Linked DNA regions of Homo sapiens: region 2 is linked to region 1. Evidence: promoter capture Hi-C in 16 types of primary human blood cells and fetal thymus (Javierre and others, 2016). All regions are on one chromosome and are shown on one strand. The core of a region is centred on a gene start or on the middle of the fragment in contact, and the rest is flanking DNA. Distances in the headings are between cores, read along the strand shown. Region 1 holds the start of NUBPL (NUBP iron-sulfur cluster assembly factor, mitochondrial). Region 2 overlaps MBIP (MAP3K12 binding inhibitory protein 1).

Evidence for each region. Contacts are between HindIII fragments. The CHiCAGO score rates a contact against its expected background, and 5 or more counts as called.
Region 2: a contact is called between a fragment that was not itself captured here and the fragment with the promoter of NUBPL in region 1, in 1 of 17 cell types (total CD4 T cells). The highest score is 5.6, in total CD4 T cells.

What each region holds. Positions count from the first base shown.
Region 1 is chr14:31,559,954-31,562,653 of GRCh38, reverse strand. NUBPL (NUBP iron-sulfur cluster assembly factor, mitochondrial) reads right to left here and starts at 1,250. Exons shown (of 11, transcript NM_025152.3): 1 at 1,107-1,250; 2 at 439-586. The coding sequence starts at 1,214. It overlaps NUBPL-DT (NUBPL divergent transcript), which reads left to right and starts at 1,323. Exons shown (of 3, transcript XR_943720.2): 1 at 1,323-1,543. RefSeq lists enhancers at 526-1,081, 1,008-1,407. The HindIII fragment of the contact is 6,263 bases long and covers 1-2,037 here.
Region 2 is chr14:36,301,751-36,304,450 of GRCh38, reverse strand. The region is part of intron 7 of MBIP (MAP3K12 binding inhibitory protein 1); the gene reads left to right. Among named protein-coding and RNA genes, the nearest start is that of MBIP, 18 kb to the left of the region's middle. The HindIII fragment of the contact is 2,950 bases long and covers 1-2,700 here.

The sequences.
Region 1 (2,700 bases), core at 1-2,500:
ACAGCCTGGGTGACAGAGCGAGATTCCGTCTCAAAAAAAAAAAAAAAAACAAAAAAAAAAAGTTACTAGATGTTTTAAAAATAACAGCAACCAATTATTGAACACTAGTAAACACTAAGCTAAGTGGTTAGCTTGTGCAATTTGAATAACCATCTTATGAAAGAAGTTATCTCCATTTTACAGTTAAGTGAACTGAAGATTTGCTGTACAATCTGACCACTTTTTCCTGAGTTAAGGGGTGGGAGACCCGGCTAGTACCTACTTTTGTCTAACTCCAAAATCTAAGCGTCTACCCGCTACCAACTCCTGAAACTAAGGAATCACATGTTAGGAACTTCACAAATAAATTTTTAAAACACAAAACTATAATTTCAATAGTGTGCACTTGTCTGTTGGCATAAGTTCTTAATCAGGAATAGAATTAATATCCTATAATACCTGCTGTAGTAGATTTTCCGACTCCACCCTTTCCAGAAGCCACAACTATAACTTGTTTAACACCTTCTATCGGTTTCTGCTTTGGAAGTCCTCGGGACATGATTTGTGTTCTTCTTTGTTTTAGGGTCTCACTCCCGGCGCCAGACAACTTTAAAAAATAATAATAATAAAAAGCCGTTTTAAATAAGCCATCTCCATCATCACACTGTAAAAGCAAAAACAATCTGGGGTTTGCAATTAAGAGGGCTTTCTTTTCTAATTCTGCTCATCTTCACTATGGAGACATTTACCTACTACTACTGATAACAATTGTAAAGACACATTGCTTAAATTGAAATTTTTCTAGCAGGATACGCTGAACGTTTAAAAATGTAAAAACGCTGCCTCTTTACGGAGATAAGGCTTCCACGTGTTTTGCTTTTCTTCAATCTATTTGATAAATAACCCAAAGCCAAGAAAGCAATGTAGAATACCACATCTACGTTCTAACTGTGTTTCAAGTCCCGCCACGCCTCAGCCTGGGCCTGCCTGAAAAGTAGGCACGTCCAGCACACTGGGGGTCTCAGGAACTGAGGCGAGTCTTTGGCAAGAAGCAATGCCAGGGCATCTGCGGCCCTGCAGCCCAGCATCTGTCAGCCCGCTTCCCCCTGCCCTGCAGCACCACGGACCTGGCGCCCACAAACCATCGCTCGGCTTCCCCCAAGCGGGGCAGTGGCCCCGCCACCAGCCCGGAGCGACACCCCACCAAAAAGCAGCAGACGCTGCCAAATCCCCATGACGCGGAACGCTGCTGTGAGCCCTGCTGGGAAACTGTCGCGGGTGGCGCGGAGTGATGACGTCACGGAGCAACGCTCGGCTTTCTCTTCCTAGCAACCGGTCTTCTTTGGGTTTGTTGGCTCAGGAACCCAATCTGCATGATCTTGTTTATAGCCAGCTACAAACATTTTGCAGCGTTTTACTAAACGTTTGTGAAGTGTTGTCATATAAAACATCTCTTATGATACTTACAGAAGTCCCGAGGTAGACAGAAGACTTACCTAGTATACTCTTTTTATGGACAAGAAAACGGAGAAAGTTTAAAGAGACTTGACCCAGCTTAACAAAAGTAGGAAATGGGGGACCTTGAAAATGACCCCAGGATTTCTTACTAAGCAGTATATGGTCATTTAAATACTACCACCGTTAAGGATTTTACCTTTTTATTTTATTTTTTCCCGTGTGATCTACAGTGAGAGTCTGTTTTGCGTTGGTATTCATGGCTTGTGTTGCTGACAGTTCCCTGAAAGAAAGGTCAGGTTGCTTTACCAGCAACCTGGTAAAGAACTTTGCAAGTTCTTCCAGACTTAAGACTCATTTATTTAACAAATATTCGTTGAGCAACTACTATGTACCGAGTACTACAGTAGACTTAAAATATTCAGCATTGAGACCGACATAATTCCTCCACTAAAGGGCTTTATAATCCAGTGCAAAAGACAGAATAAGTTAACAACAAAATTGCGGTATAATATGATAAGTACAGGAGAAAAGCATTGAGGGATACAGGAGAAAGGACAAAGTGATACAAAGAAAGGGCACTCAATTCAATCAGGGGAAGCTTCTAAATTAGGTAATATCTAAGCTGAATGCTGAATCTGAATAATGTGTAGAAGTTAGCTGGGAGAATGGCAAGGAGATTGTTGTAAAGAGGTTAGAAATGGACTGCTAAGGCTAGGCATGGTGGCTCACGCGTGTAATTCCAACACTTTGGGAGGCCAAAGCAAGAGGATTGCTTGAGCCAGGAGTTCAAGGATGCAGTGAGCTATGATTGCACCACTGCACTCCAGCGTGGGCAGCAGAGTGACACCTTGTCAGAAGAAGAAGAAAGAAGGAAGGAGGAAGGAGGAAGAGGAAATTAAAAGGAGAAGAAAGAAGAAGGAAGAAGAAAGAAGAAGAGAGTAGAAGGAAGAAAGATGAAAGAAGAGAGAAAAGCCCCCGCCCGGCCAGCTGCCCCGTCCGGGAGGGACGTGGGGGGCAGCCCCCATCCGGTCAGCCGCCCCGTCCCGGAGGGAGGTGGGGGGCAGACCCCGCCCGGCCGCCACCCCGTCCGGGAGGTGGAGTCACCTCTGCCCGGCCACCCCGTCTGGGAAGTGAGGGGCCCCTCTGCCCAGCCGCCACCCTGTCTAGGAGGTGTACCCAACAGCTCATTGAGAACGGGCCATGATGACGATGGCGGTTTTGTCGAATAGAAAAGGGGGAAATGTGGGGAAAGGAAAGAGAGAT
Region 2 (2,700 bases), core at 80-2,579, 4.7 Mb before region 1:
TTTAGTTTATAGCATTTATCACTCATATGTTTATACATGTTTTTCACTTTATATTTTGAAACTCTCAAGGGCAGGAACTATGTCTTGTTCATCTTTGAGACACAGAATGTAGTCAATATCGAGTAGATGTGCAAATGAATGGATAGGACTTGGCTGATAGCTCATTATTGGACTTTGAAGGTGTGTTAACTTTGTTCAAAGCACTGACTGAGAGTAATTTTTAGTCTGTAACAGTAACTCCTGGTTCTTAAGGGAAGTATCGGGGGAGGGGAATGCTGAAAATCAGGTCAACATCATGTACACAGGCCATGTGCGTGTGAACGTGTGGTGGGTCTGAAGCATGAGTGAACAACTGGATTCAGCTAGAAAATTAGATTGTAAACATATTTCAGAGGGCCTTGAAGGTCACACTAACCAGTTTGCACTTCTAGTATCATTGGAGCACAATTAAGTTTTAGAGAAAGAGAGAAACTTGTAATTTAGGTCCCTGTCTGGTGGCATTATGAAGTCTGAGTTGGAGAGAAATTGGAGTCAAGGAAACTAGTTTAGGAAACATGTCATTATCCAAGCCAGAGAGAAATGAAGGTCTGAATCAGGGCTCTGGGACTAGAAGGGAAGAAAAACATTTTAGATACTGCACGCATAGAATCAGTTGCCTTTTACAACTGAAAGAAAGCAAGCCAGTCATGGAAGAGGCCTCCTTACCCTTGAGTTTCCTTAGAGCACTGGTTCCCTGGATTCATATGTGTGTGTGCATGTGCGTGAACGTGTGTATGACAGTCATGCTCTGCATAAGGATGTTTCAGTCAACAGTCAACTGCATATATTACAGTGATCCCATAAAATTATAGTATGGTATTTTTACTGTATCTTTTCTATGTTGAGACGTGTTTAGATACACATATACCATTGTGTTACACTTGCCTACAGTATTCAATACAGAAACATGCCATAAGGTTTATATGCTAGGAGCAATAGACTATACCATATAGCCTAGGTGTGTACCATCTAGGTTTCTATAAGTATACTCTATGATGTTCACACAATGACAAAATTAACACATTTCTCAGAATATATCCCCATCATTAAGCGGTGCATGACTAGGAACCTGGTAAGGTAAAATAATGGGTGAGGAGAGACAATTTTGCATTACCTTTCTCCAGCTCTTTCTTTAGTGTGCTGTGCTCTCAAGTATTTTCTCTCAGGTACCAAAACCTGTTAAAATGTCCACCTTTTATACTTCTATACAGATGGGGTTATGTCCCAATAAACCCATCAAAAACTGAAAATATTATTAAGTCTAAAATGCATTCAACACCTCTAACCTACCAAACATCATAGCTTAGCCTAGCCTAAAACATGTTCAGAATGTGTACACTGGCCTATCATGTACAGTTGAGGAAAGTCCCTTGGCAGCACAGTACACTGTAGAGTATCGGGTGTTTACCCTCATACCCCATGGCTGACTGGGAGCTTTGCTCACTGCCACTGCCCAGCATCACAAGAGAGCATCGTATCACATGTCACTAGCCCAGGAAAAGATCAAAATTCAGCATTTGAAGTACAGTTTCTACTGAATGTCTGTCACTTTCACAGCATTGTAAATTTGAAAAACCTTATCTAGCCATCATAAGTCAGGAACTGTACTGAGATTTCCTTATACCTAAAACAAACAGTAAAGTTAATCTAGTGTATCCACGGTAGATATGGTATTTCTAAGTGTTCTTTTTATCAAAATATTCTGCTCAGAGCTAAAACAAGTCCAAAAGGCCACATTTTACTGTTTTTAAGTCACTGAGCGACTGATGACCTTATTTTCCTCATTCTAATATTTCTTGCTTTGGTTCTATGATACAGTAGTAATCTGATTGTTTAATAGCATGGAAACTATCAATATATTACAGGTTAAACGATTAGGAGAACAAGGGGAATTTTTTTTTTTTTTTTTTTTTTTTTTTTAAGATGGTGTCTTGCTCTGTCGCCCAGGCTGGAGTGCAGTGGTGCAGTCTCGGCTCACTGCAACCTCCGCCTCCCGGGTTCATGCCATTCTCCTGCCTCAGCCTCCCAAGTAGCTGGGACTGCAGGCACCTGCCACCACACCCGGCTAGTTGTTTGTGTTTTTAGTAGAGACTGGGTTTCACCATGTTAGCCAGGATGGCCTTGATCTCCTGACCTCTTGATCCACCCGCCTCGGCCTCCCAAAGTGCTGGGATTACAGGCATGAGCCACCACGCCTGGCCAAGGGCAATTATATTTGCATCAAGTGTATAAAAAGCCACCTCTTAGGAAGTTAGGAGACTGATCAATCGCCAAATTAAACATTGATTCCTTATTTGCCCATAGGCCCTACCACAGGTATCCAGCTTGGTTTGGCAAAGGAAGGAGCATAATTATCTGAGCTCTATTATTTCTTAATTACTAATTCTAATACTTAATGATTTCCCATTTATTGTAACTTGATAAGCATACCTAGATGTTCTTTGAATCAACTTTTGACACAAAGGAAAATGTGAGTTTTAATGCTGTCTTTAAAATCTCAGTAGTCAGAAATGCTCATGAGAACATTTTGTCTTGGACATTCACAGTTTCTTTGTCAAATATACTCATTTACTAATTTGCCATTCAAAAGCTAGTGCTTGTGTGAAACTAAGAAAAAGTCTAGAAAGAATTCATTAGGCCAAAGTTTAAAAGGCTCATTAG